2 separate regions of the Homo sapiens genome follow, and region 1 is linked to region 2. The links are contacts of gene promoters, found by promoter capture Hi-C in blood cells and fetal thymus (Javierre and others, 2016). All regions are on one chromosome and are shown on one strand. The core of a region is centred on a gene start or on the middle of the fragment in contact, and the rest is flanking DNA. Distances in the headings are between cores, read along the strand shown.

What was found. The method cuts DNA at HindIII sites, captures the fragments that hold promoters and counts their contacts. A CHiCAGO score of 5 or more calls a contact.
Region 1: a fragment that was not itself captured here is called in contact with the fragment with the promoter of FAM200B in region 2 in 2 of 17 cell types (fetal thymus and activated CD4 T cells); the score reaches 8.4 in fetal thymus.

What each region holds. Positions count from the first base shown.
Region 1 is chr4:17,811,244-17,817,457 of GRCh38, reverse strand. NCAPG (non-SMC condensin I complex subunit G) reads right to left here. Exons shown (of 21, transcript NM_022346.5): 2 at 5,034-5,237; 3 at 4,313-4,541; 4 at 2,460-2,605; 5 at 2,100-2,184; 6 at 5-197. Among named protein-coding and RNA genes, the nearest start is that of NCAPG, 3.4 kb to the right of the region's middle. RefSeq lists an enhancer at 6,008-6,214. The HindIII fragment of the contact is 956 bases long and covers 4,487-5,442 here.
Region 2 is chr4:15,677,939-15,683,858 of GRCh38, reverse strand. It overlaps FAM200B (family with sequence similarity 200 member B), which reads right to left and starts at 2,032. Exons shown (of 2, transcript NM_001145191.2): 1 at 1,958-2,032. It also overlaps a transcript of FBXL5 not described here. RefSeq lists enhancers at 1,763-1,812, 1,823-2,062, 2,233-2,532. The HindIII fragment of the contact is 4,207 bases long and covers 918-5,124 here.

The sequences.
Region 1 (6,214 bases), core at 3,715-6,214, 2.1 Mb before region 2:
GTACCTGCCATCATTGTTTTTACAGAGTCCCACCAGTTCACTGAGAGGAGTTATTGAAAACAAGGCATTGAGAACAGAGACTGCCACTTCAGAAGAATTTTCTACATCCAACCGATGGAGCAACTCTAAGATATTTCCTTCAGAGAACCGTAACCAGCCTTGAAGAAGATGCTTCTGCATAGCTTGTTTCACAGCATCTATTGAGTCATTTGAAACATAGGTGAACAAAGGCTCCCTCTAGCTTCCATCTCTTGTATTTTGTCTGTTTTAATTAACAAAGTCAGTATTTACAATAGAAATAGTAGAGGTTAAGAGGCACAACTAAGCATGTATATATATATTTTTTGAGACAGAGTCTCGCTCTGTCACCAGGCTGGAGTGCAGTGGCACGATCTTGGTTCACTGCAACCTCCACCTACCAGATTCAAGCGATTCTCCTGCCTCAGCCTCCCGAGTAGCTGGGACTACAGGCATGCGCCACCACGCCCAGCTAATTTTTGTTTCACCATGTTGGCCAGGATGGTCTCAATCTCTTGACCTCGTGATCCGCCTGCCTCGGCCTCCAAAAGTGCTGAGATTACAGGTGTGAGCCATAGCGCCCAGCCAACTAAGCATATTAAAGGTAAAAAAAAAGAAGTACCATGATACTGCAAAAGTCACTGTAATGGTCACTTACAAATAAAAATGGAAAAGGTTCAGCACCAAATACCACAGCCTACAAAAATATCTTTACATTCCTTCTCCCCTGGGTTCAATGGGCTTCAGGTGTTAGCCCAGAATATGTAATAGCTATTATCTCACTTGTTATCTGATTTTATCTATTACACGATTGCTATTTGCAGTAGTGAACTATACAAGCACACGTCACTGAACAAACCTTAGTCTTAGCTTTTAAGGTCATCCTACTAATTAGTCCTCTGACAATGTTTTCAAACGCAAGTCGGTTTTCTCACTACAGCGCAATAGAGCCATCTTGGCCTTCTCATGAGAGTTAAAAACTTCAAAAAATATCATTCCTATAAGCAGATTCTCTCAGGCTCCCCAACCCCTGGGCCACGGACTAGTACCAGTCTGTGGCCTGTTAGGAACCGGGCCGCACAGGAGGAGGTAAGCCGTGGTCTAACGAGCATTACCACCTGAGCTCTTCCTACTGTCAGATCAGCAGATGCATTAGATTCTCTCAGGCGCAGGAACTCTATTGTGAACTGCGCACATGAGGTATCCAGGTTGCACGCTCCTTATGAGAATCTAAGTAATGCCTGATGATCTGAGGTGGAACAGTTTCATCTGGAAACCATCCAGCCCGCCCTCTGTGGAAAAACTGTCTTCCATGAAATCGATCCTTGGTGTCAAAAATGTTGGGGAACTCTACTCTAACAGAAAAAAAAAAAAATAAGAAAATTATACTGGTCTGACCATTCCTATTTGTTGTTTCTGATACACAGAACACATTCATACCAAAGTATACACATAAGGAACAGCATTTTTTTTTTAAGTCAGAGAGAGAGGGCAAATAGATCTTTTCCTACTTCTGACATGAATTAGCTCTACAGACTTAAGTATTGTTTCTCCATCTGTAAAATACAGAAAGGGTGAAAGAAATAAGCTCTGCTCCTTCAAAATACCAAGATCTTGGCCAGACGCGGTGGCTCACACCTGTAATCCCAACACTTTGGGAGGCTGAAGTAGGTGCATCACTTGAGGTCAGGAGTTCGAGACCAGTCTGGCCAACATGGTGAAACCCCGTCTCTATAAAAATATAAAAATTAACCAGACATGGTGATGTTCACCTGTAATCCCAGCTGCTCAGGAGGCTGAGGCAGGAGAATCGCTTGAAACTAGAAGGCAGAGGTTGCAGTGAGCCAAGATTGCACCACAGCACTCCAGTCTGGGTGATAGAGTGAGACTCTGTCTCAAAAATATATATATATCAAAATCTTTAGCCCTGTGTTTTCTATATAATACATCAAGATAAATTTCACCAGGTTCATGGGACTGGCAGGCTTACTTGACCTGATTTGACACTCGTTTCTTAAACCTTGTTAAGTCTGACCTCAAAATCTACTAAAGTTTTGTATATATAAAGTTGTTTATCTTACCTGATCTGTCATTAAGACCTTGTTGAAGGAGCATTACTCTCTGAGCAATGGACATAGCTCTCATATGAACCTTTTCAGCTAAAACCTTAAAAATAATTTATAAAGATGGTCATTAACCTCAACACAATTTATAGATTTCATAAGAATATCACCATCTTAGAAAATTACCCAGAATCTCCAAAAGAAATTAATACCTGGTAACATACTTAATACAGTAAGATTCTACCTAAATTACCTGTGTTCTCCATAAAACCTCAACTGAAGAAATTATTACATGCCAAGTATTTTTCAAAGGCACTTTAAGAAAATGGCTCCTTGTCCTTTAAGAATATGCCAACACAAGACATTGAACTTATTTACCTGATAAGCCAGCTTTCTGACAGCCTCTTTCACATCCTTGGTGCGCCCTACAATTTTTGGCAAAGTCTTTGCTGATGGTGCAATACATGATAACACTGCCCGTCTAACTTCTGGATTTGAATCATTTTCAATCAAAGTAGCATATGCTAAAAATAAAGCAATACATTTTAGTACTGATGAAATTATTTATTTAACTACAGTCATAAAATAACACACATTTTGATATTTTAAAATGCCTTTAATGTGATAAAGATAGGCTGGGCATGATGGCTACTGCCTATAACCAGCACTTTGGGAGGCCAAGGTAGGTGGAGAGCTTGAAGCCAAGAGTTCAAGACCAGCCTGAGCAATATAGAAAGACCCCTGTCTCTACAAAATAATTTTAAAATAAAAAATTAGCTAGGCATGGTAGTGGCGCTTCCAGTTACTTAGGAGGCTGAGGTGGAAGGATCACTTAAGCCCAGGAGTTTGAGGCCACACCTCTGCAATCCAGCCCGAGTGAGAACCCATCTGTAATAGAAAGTAATGTCATTTTTTTAGTCTCACATATTTTAGTTGAAGTTTTTTTCCCACCAACTTCCTTCTTTTTCTTTTTTTTGGAGACAAGGTCTCACTATGTTGCCCAGGTTGGAGCCAAAGTGCTGAGATTACAGGCCTGAGTCACTGCTGCGCAGGCCACCAACTTCCCTTCTAAAGACACAAGGGGGAATTAGTCAACGGACTGGCTCTTAGGCCAAAAGTGAAAACAAATAGCCCTAAAAGTCACAGAAAATTCATCATTAAGATTATGTCTGTGCTACTCCTCAATATTTAAGAGAAAGCTTACTATAGCAGACAGTTTATTTTAAACTGATATGGCTTTATAAGGGCCCATTATTTTGGTTTTTAATGAGACCTAAAAGGAAATATTTTTTGGTTTTATTCATTGAAACAAACCCATTTCTTATATTTAAATATATTTATCTGTACTTCTCACATCTTTCCTACCTCAATTATTAAGTACAGGTTGACTATCAAATACCTATGTTTTACACAATATTATTATGGGTATCTTTTAACACCAAAAAAAATACCAACTACTATAGTGATAAATATACCAGTGATTATAAAACTGGTAATAGGGACAAAAAGGACAGAAGAGTGCCTAAAACATACCTAGGCATATATGGAAAAATGAAATACAACTACCTTTATGACCCCATAGGTAAGAAAAAGTTCCTTAAAAAAGAGATTAAAAAATACGAATCATAATGGCAGAGATTTATATTTTTGACATAAGAATTTCTGTTCAAAAAAAAGATACCCCAAAGGGAGTGAAACAATGATACCCCAATGAGCCACCTAAAACAGGAAGAGATCTACAATTCATATAACCCAAGGATTTCTTTTCAAAATATATAAAGAATGCAAATGAATTTTTTAAAATAGTATTTTAAATTAAAAACCCAATGAAAAAATGGGCAAAACACAGTAACAGGTATTATATAGAAATATAATTGGCTGCTAAATATATACATACAGCATGATTTACACAAAATGACAGGAAAACATTAAGATAGACATATGTGATTTATGCAAAAAAATTTTTTTTAATTTAAGCAAGAGACTAATTAACCCCAAACTGAGGATTTAATAGTTACTTCTGAGGGACAGGGATGCAACTGGGATAGGATGCAAGTACTGACTTTTTTTTTTAAGCTGGGTGGTTGCTACTTAGGTTTTTTTTGTTTAATCGGAATCATATATTAATTACCTATACTCTTCAAATGTATAGACCATAATAAAAAATTTCAAATACTGAGAATTTAACAAAATCAACAAATCTGAAAAAAGATTTAGGAAACTACACACACCATTAACCACTGGGCATTCATCATCCTTGGGATCCTGAAGTCGTGAAAGCGCCAGAACTGCCTGTATTCTCACATTTGGAATCTTATCTTTCAATCTAATAAGCATGGCTTTATTAATTTTATCAAACACATCATCATCAATCTGAGCATTTTCTGGCATACTTCCCAAAAGCTTGTTTATGAGCAGGCACACTCTAAATCTCACTGCATTGCTGTTTGCTTCATGAGACTAAAACAGAAACAAATCAAAATTTATTCATAGTCACATACCACTCCCAAATAATCAATATTATCTGAACTCTATACATTCGGAATGCAAGAAGTTACAACAACAATTCATTTCCTGAAGAGAACCTATAATGCTACCTTGGTCCATATGTATAGCAAATATATATATTTTATACAGTCTCAAAATGAACAGTCTGAAAGAAGTCTTTGCTAAGTTACATAGTCCTCTTTGTAGAGGCTTCTAAAATACAGAACTCATTTAAAATAAACAAAGGAGAACTGGTTTAAAGAGGTCATTAAAAATTTAATGCTGGAGTTAAAGTCCACTTTTTAATCATAATGATAATTCTAATATTTCCTATGAAAGGTAGACTCATTCAGGTTTTTTCAATCACTAGATATTTCATTGTCAAAAACATACAAACTCCCACGACTCTTTTAAAGTGGCAAAATTTTCTAAAATCCCTCCCCAAAGCTATCATTTTCATAGTACCTTTAAGAGAAAAGTAAACAAATAATTTAAAAGGCCACCATCTTCCTCTTCCTCATCATCTTCCATATCTGATTGGTGAAATGAGGTAACAAACTTTGCTGCAAATTCTATTACCCTCTCCACAGCTGGTTCACGTTTATAGACCACCATAACATATTTAAGGTAATGAATGAACTCCTCATGAAAAACTGTCTTATCATCCATCTGAAAGACAAAAGAAACCCTTCATAAACTGCACCGATAAAAATCCTTTATTCCCAACATCACCCTAAGACTGATGAAAGCACTAGCCATAATAATGCAGACAAATTAAAATATTTATTTAGTAAACTCTTAATTATCCAAACCAGCCAAAGGGCAATCAATTTGCATGAATTTCTCTCCAGGCTATAATGGGAGTACACAAGCTTGACTTTTGACAGTGAAAAGATTCCTTTGATATATTTTTTTCAATATCTTTGATTCTCAATAAGCCTTTAGTACCAGTACGTTACAAATACGCTTCTTCAACAACCCAAAATCAATACTGGCTTTTATATTTCTCATATTCAGGCCTTCCTATCACCAGCAGTTTCTTTATGAGATAACTTGCACATCCTATCTCATATCCTCAAAGCCCTGTGATGTTTACTCACAATTTTTCTTGGACCTCAAGATAATTCATCTTCCCCAAATTAATTGTTCTATTCTTCTCAAGGTTCCACTCAAAACAAACAAATAGTATGTACATAAATAAGAATGGCCAGGCCCTAAAAATAATTTGGTATTTGGTGATTGGATTCAACGTAACCGTAGGACAAGGGTAGAATCATTTGATGTTCGGCGGGGAGCGATGACCCCAGGGGCAACGACCACTGAACCCCCGCATTCAGGATCCACTCTGCGGTTCAATATTTGATGTCTGATCGCCTCGGTGGTCGTAAATGTTTCTCTCCACGTTCACGATCGGACTAAGGAATAACGGTCCACGCCGCCCAGAAGCTGGGGGTGTCGGCTCAGAAAAGCCAAGGCGGGGCCCGTGTGAACGACGCCCAGGCTTCGGAGGCTTTCTGGCCTGGGCCCAGGCGACCTCGGGTAAGTCCCTGACTTCTCCGAACCTCAGATCCCTATGAAGTGAGTCGCGAAGGTGAACAAGGCTGGAGTCACGGTGCGCCGAGCCCGAGGGCCACGGAGGGCCCCTG
Region 2 (5,920 bases), core at 783-3,282:
CCTGTAGTAAACTGTACAATGTACACTCTATTTTTATCACAGTCAGTAACAAATAAGTTATCCAACTATATTTGGACAACTGGGAAATATGTAAGACGAAGGCTAATAAAACATATTATTTAAAACAGGATTGTTAAAGATTCTACTTCATAATAAACTGCTTATGTTAAGAAATAGTAGAAACAATGATCCTATAAAAACATACATGTAAATTTAGATTTAGCTTTTAAAGCTTAGAACCTAAATCTACCTGAAAAAAAGAAATATACATTAAAAAAGTATCTTATTTTTATATTACTATATATGGATCATTTATCTCTTAGAAGCAATTGTCTTTTAACTATTCCATTCTTTCATATTCTTACTATTCACGTTTCAATCCCCCCTTGAAAGTTTGTAACACTAGTTCAGTTACTATTGTATTAAAAAGATATTTTTAAAGGGTTTACTCTCCCTCCTAAATCAGACAGTTCATCTATAGTAACAGCAGTGGCAGTATATTAGGGAACAGGTCTGGTAGATGTGGTGATGAAAGCATGGGGAAGTTTTTTTTTAACTCAATAGGATGTGAGGTATCATCTAAGTAAGAGGCCGAAGTAGAAAATGTTGCAAGTTTGTCAGAAGAAAATATGAAATATTAATAATTGTTAAGGAATGTGATAATATGATGGACTAGGAAAATGTTTTTGGATTTTTAGTCTGGCTGGTTGTCTTACTTGCTTAATGCAATGATTGTTATTGTTACAATGCTTGATAGTCTAAAATTCCCCGTCACTAATCTTTTATATCCTAAGATATATCTCTAGTGCGCTGTATCATCTTCTGAAAATACAGCTCTAATCAGCTTCCTCATAACTGGAAAAGCATTTAATGGCGCCGAGCTTGTGTAAGCTCTTCAGGATAATATCCTTTAAGCTTAAGCCTCATCTTTCCAGGTTTCTCCTTCATCACATGATCTCCATACATTCTACATTTCAGTACTAAAAGTATGGAAATTCTTGAAATAGTTCATGCACTTTCATGTCTCTGCTTTTGGCTAGTATTCCTTTTGCCTGGAATACTCTTGTTGGGTCACATGAAGTCCTATTTATTCTTTTCTACTTAGTTCAAATGCTACAGCAGCCATGCATTCAACTAACATTTAGCTACCTACAGTGCCTAAAGTATGTCAGGCACTGGAGATACTAAACAATGAACAGTGACATATTAAAATAACAGAATATCTGTTCAGCTATTAAGATGAATAAGGTGGAGTTACACAACACTGACAAATCTCAAAAACATTATGTAAAACAAGCTAGCTGCAAAAAGATGTACACATTACAGATTGCATAAAGGTGGTTAGGAGAGTGGTTTCCTTAGGCAAAAGGAAAGAGAATGAGACGGGGTAGAGCTGACAAAGGACTTCAATCACTTATATAATCATTTATTTCTCCAATTCAGTGGTGAGTACACATGTGTTATAGTTTTGTTTCTACCTTTTTTCTGTCTAAAATCGTCTATTTAAAAAAAGCATCTTTAAGGCTGGATACCTTCCTGAAGGCACTGGAAATCTGTCATACTGCCACTAACTTAAAATTACCTTCCACCTCTTGCATTTCCCTTTGTTTCCTGTTTTGACATTGCGCACACATTAGTTAGTACACTAGGCCTTAAGAGTGGAAACTGCCAGGTACCAGCTTTAGCTAGATTAAAACATGACCCTCTTCCCAGGAGACTCCTGACCGGTTTTCTCGTCCTCCAGGGACCCAGCTAGGATTTCAATGAACTTTGGCCTGAACCCCTCGGCCGACCCTAGAATAATCGCCCTTCAGGCCCGGATTGCTTCTGCTCTCACCTTCCCTCAATTCATACGGGGGGCAAAACCAGACTGTATTTCCCGCAACGAACCCTGGAATGCTTCGCTTTAGCGGACTCCGGTCCACTCCCATCAGAGGATGCCCTTCTTTCGCCTCACCTCCAGCCCAGCCGCAGCGACCCGGCCGGGCCCAGCGCTGCAAGCCTCAGGTCTCTCCAGCAGAGCTGCGCCTCTGCTCTCCCCACACTTCCCTCCGCAACACCACTTCCGGCCTACCTCACAAATTCCCCATTCCAGCCGAAAAGAACTGGATCGGCCCTCTGCGCATGCGTGAGACCGGGGCGGTGTCCGGGGGTGCCGGGAGCGGGCGGTGCAGGCTCCACTTTTCCACTTCCCTACGCTCTGTCGGCAGTCTCGCGGGATTTCCGCCTCTCGCGGGAGTTATTTGAATGCCAGGGCGGTAACGACTCCCTAGGCGCCTGGGGCCCTCTGACAAGAAACCCTAGGAGACACCGCGGAGAACTCTGCCTCTGAGCTGGTGGGCGGGCCGGATGTAGCCGAGCGCGGACAGGGCTAGTCCGGACAGAGTCCCAGAGCCATGGGAGCGAAAAGAGACTGCTGCGGATTAAGGAGGCCTTTCGGTTGGCGCAGCAGCCACACCACAACCAGGCGAAGCAGGTAGTGGCGCTGAATCGCTCCTGCCGCGGGGTAAGCGCTCCCGGCCCGCGCCCGCCCCAGCCCCGACCTGGCGGGGCCAGGACGCTGGTTCATACACTCCAAGGTGATTTTCATAGTCTTTGTGGAAGAATTAGAGAATTTTGAACTTTGATATCATTGCACGTGTTTACTTATTTAGAGAATCGCATTGTGTTTAATAATCATAGTATTCCTGTGCGACTCTTTAGGTTAGCAGATCATTGATTTTTAACATAAAACTGCATTTCATTAAATAGATTTAAATATGTATGTATATTTCTGTCCTCTAATGATTGTAACAAAGCAGATTTCTTGATCATTAACAAGATAGGTTCGTGCAAATAAGTGCATCTTTGTCACAAACCAAATTTTTTTGTGGTTGAGATATATATTTATATATATATGTGAAACAAAAAACATATAAAGGAGAATATATATATATTCTTATATATATAATATATACTGCTTTATTTTTTTGGGTTGACATATATATGTCATATATAGTTTTTTTTTAAATTCTACCTTAAACAGGGAAACATGTTAGATACAGGAGCTTGAATTTCAACTCTGAAACTTAATGCGACTTTATCAGCATTTCTCTTTCTCAAGCTACTTACTTCTTGTAGGATTACACAGTCAAATTTTTAAAAATTTTTGATTCTCCAACTGGATTTTTTTTTTTAATTTTTGAGACGGAGTCTCACTCTCTCGCCCAGGCTGGAGTGCAGTGGCGCAGCCTCGGCTCACTGCAACCTCAGCCTCCTGGTTCAAGCGATTCCCCTGCCACAACCTCCCGAGTAGCTGGGATTACAGGCGACCGCCACCATGCCAGGCTAATTTTTGTATTTTTCAAAAATACAAAGACGGGGTTTCACCATTTTGGCCAGGCTGGTCTCGAACTCCTGACCTCAGGTGATCCACCCACTTGGGCCTCCCAAAGTGCTGGGATTACAGGGGTGAGCCACTGCACCCAGCCTCTCCCACTGGATTTTTAAAGCTGTTTTTTGATTAGCAAATATTTCTTTTACATGGCTCAAACTACATGAAAAGAAATGCAGCAAGAAACACTTCCTCCCTAGTCCCTATCCAGTACCATTCCTAATAGTCTTCACGGGTAATCATTTTAAATTAGTTTCTTGTTTATCCTTCCGGTCTTCATGCAGAGATACAAGCAGATGAGAATATACAGTCTTATTTCACTCGGTCTCTCCTTCAATATTTTCTGCATTGTTCATGTTTTTTTTTTTCCTGTTTTACTGTATATTCTGGATATTCCTCCTTATCAGTATTCAATTAAACTTATTTTTTCCTGTCACATACTCCATTTTGTAGATATACTCCAGTTTATACAGTAAATCACGCGTAGGTGGACACTTGGCGTTGTTTCCAGTCTTCAGATATTAGAAACAACTCTTCAGTGAATACATGTCATTTCTACATTTGCAGGGGTAACTGTCAGATTCTGAAAAGAATTGCTGGATCCAAGAGGAAATGTGTTTGCAAATATGATAGATATTTACAGTTGCCCTTCATAGAGTGATCCATTTTACACTCCTATCAGCAGAGAAGAGAATGAGACATACTGCTTTTTTTTTTTTAGGGGGATTGGAAAGAACAGGAATATAATTGGGATTTTTTGATAGATAAGTAAAATCCTGAAAAGTTTGGGAATATGAGTTAGAATGATAAAACATATAACAAAAATAACTTGTTGTGTGATAAGAAGGCTTAATTTTAAAAAGCAGTATTGAATTGGGACCATTGGGTGTTGGTTTTTTGTTTTTTTGTTTTTTTTTTTTTTTGTTCCTGAACTGTACCTTTAGCATATTTCTCTAGATAGATTCAAGGATATTTAGAAAAATCAAAATCTCTTGTGATCAAAATCTGTGCTTCCTTGCTCCATGACAGAAGCAATTCAAAAACAAGAGACTTGGGTAAATATTACTCAGGTTTATTTTCCTCAGTTTTTTCTACTGGATGGATAATTAATAATTGTTAAAGAGTAGATATTTTAGCCCGACATGGTGGCTCACACCTGTAATCCCAGCACTTTGAGAGGCCGAAGCGGGTGGATCATGAGATCAGGAGATCCTGACCAACATGGTGAAACCCTGTCTCTACTAAAAATACAAAAATTAGCTGGGTGTGGTGGCACGTGCCTATAATCCCAGCTACTCAGGAGGCTGAGGCAGGAGAATCGCTTGAACCCAGGAGGCGGAGGTTGCAGTGAGCCGAGATCACGCCGCTGCACTCCAGCCTGGTGAGAGTGAGACTCCGTCTCAAAAAAAAAAAAAAAAAAAATAGAGATTTTAGTTTGGTGAAAAATTGTTGAGATTTTTGAGAATTATGATAGTGCTAGGGACAGAGACTATTATCAATGTAGTTTGTGAAGGGTTTGTTTTTTATTTCTGCTGACCAGTAAAAGTTTTTTAAGAGGCATTTGTTCATTATATCAATTAAGCTATGATGATCTGCAAATATGAACCAACAGTAGAGTGAGAAACAGAATTTGCAGCAGTTTATTACATCATTTCACCAAACAGAAGGAAGATAATGAGAAAAATGAAGACAGTGACATTTCAAACAAAATGACCTTATAAATATTTTTCTGTAGGCTAAAATAATAAGCTTATAATTAAAAGCTGATTTGTTAAGTAATAATAGCTTACATTTAAAATTATAAGAAACCAATTTTAGGTAAATATACTTAAATTAATGCTCTACCTAGGAAGGAATGCAGAAGATCATTTTGGTCAAAAAGTTGTTGCATTCTTGTTATTTAGCAAATATTTCAGACAAGGACTATTTTGAGACTATGTAAATGTATATTTAGTATACCTATGCATGAAAGTAGCATTGTAGCTTTTCTTCGTTTGCATGAATTGTAACCCCTTTGAGTTATTAAAGCCTTCACTTGGGGAAAATCAAGTGGTCGTTACAATGCCACTTGGGAATAAGTTTTCATTTGTTTTTGTTTCAATACTGAGGTAAACAGCAATGAAGTTTTTGATGTGCCAAATTCTGAGTAAGTTATTGGGAAATAAGCCAGAAAATGCCTAGATTAATAATGTTTTGTGTAAAAAATTAATGAAGCCATTCTTGTTAGATTGAAAGATAAAATTGCAAATGAGAAAATCCAGGCAATCCTGCCTGTTTTGAGACTTAACACCTATGAATAATGACTTGTCCCATAAGTTAAAAGTATGTGCAACTTCATAGTTTTTTGTTTGATTTTTAAATTCACAGTAGTTGAATTATTCCTATTAAATATATAATTTATGAGAAAAGAAAGTATGTATGAAACACACCCACCCGCCCATTTAATGATACATCATTCCAATAGCAATTCCCTGACACCAGCTGAATGTCCTACAATGCAATTCAATTTCGTTACTAATTGCCTGAAGTTAGCACAGTTGCCACACA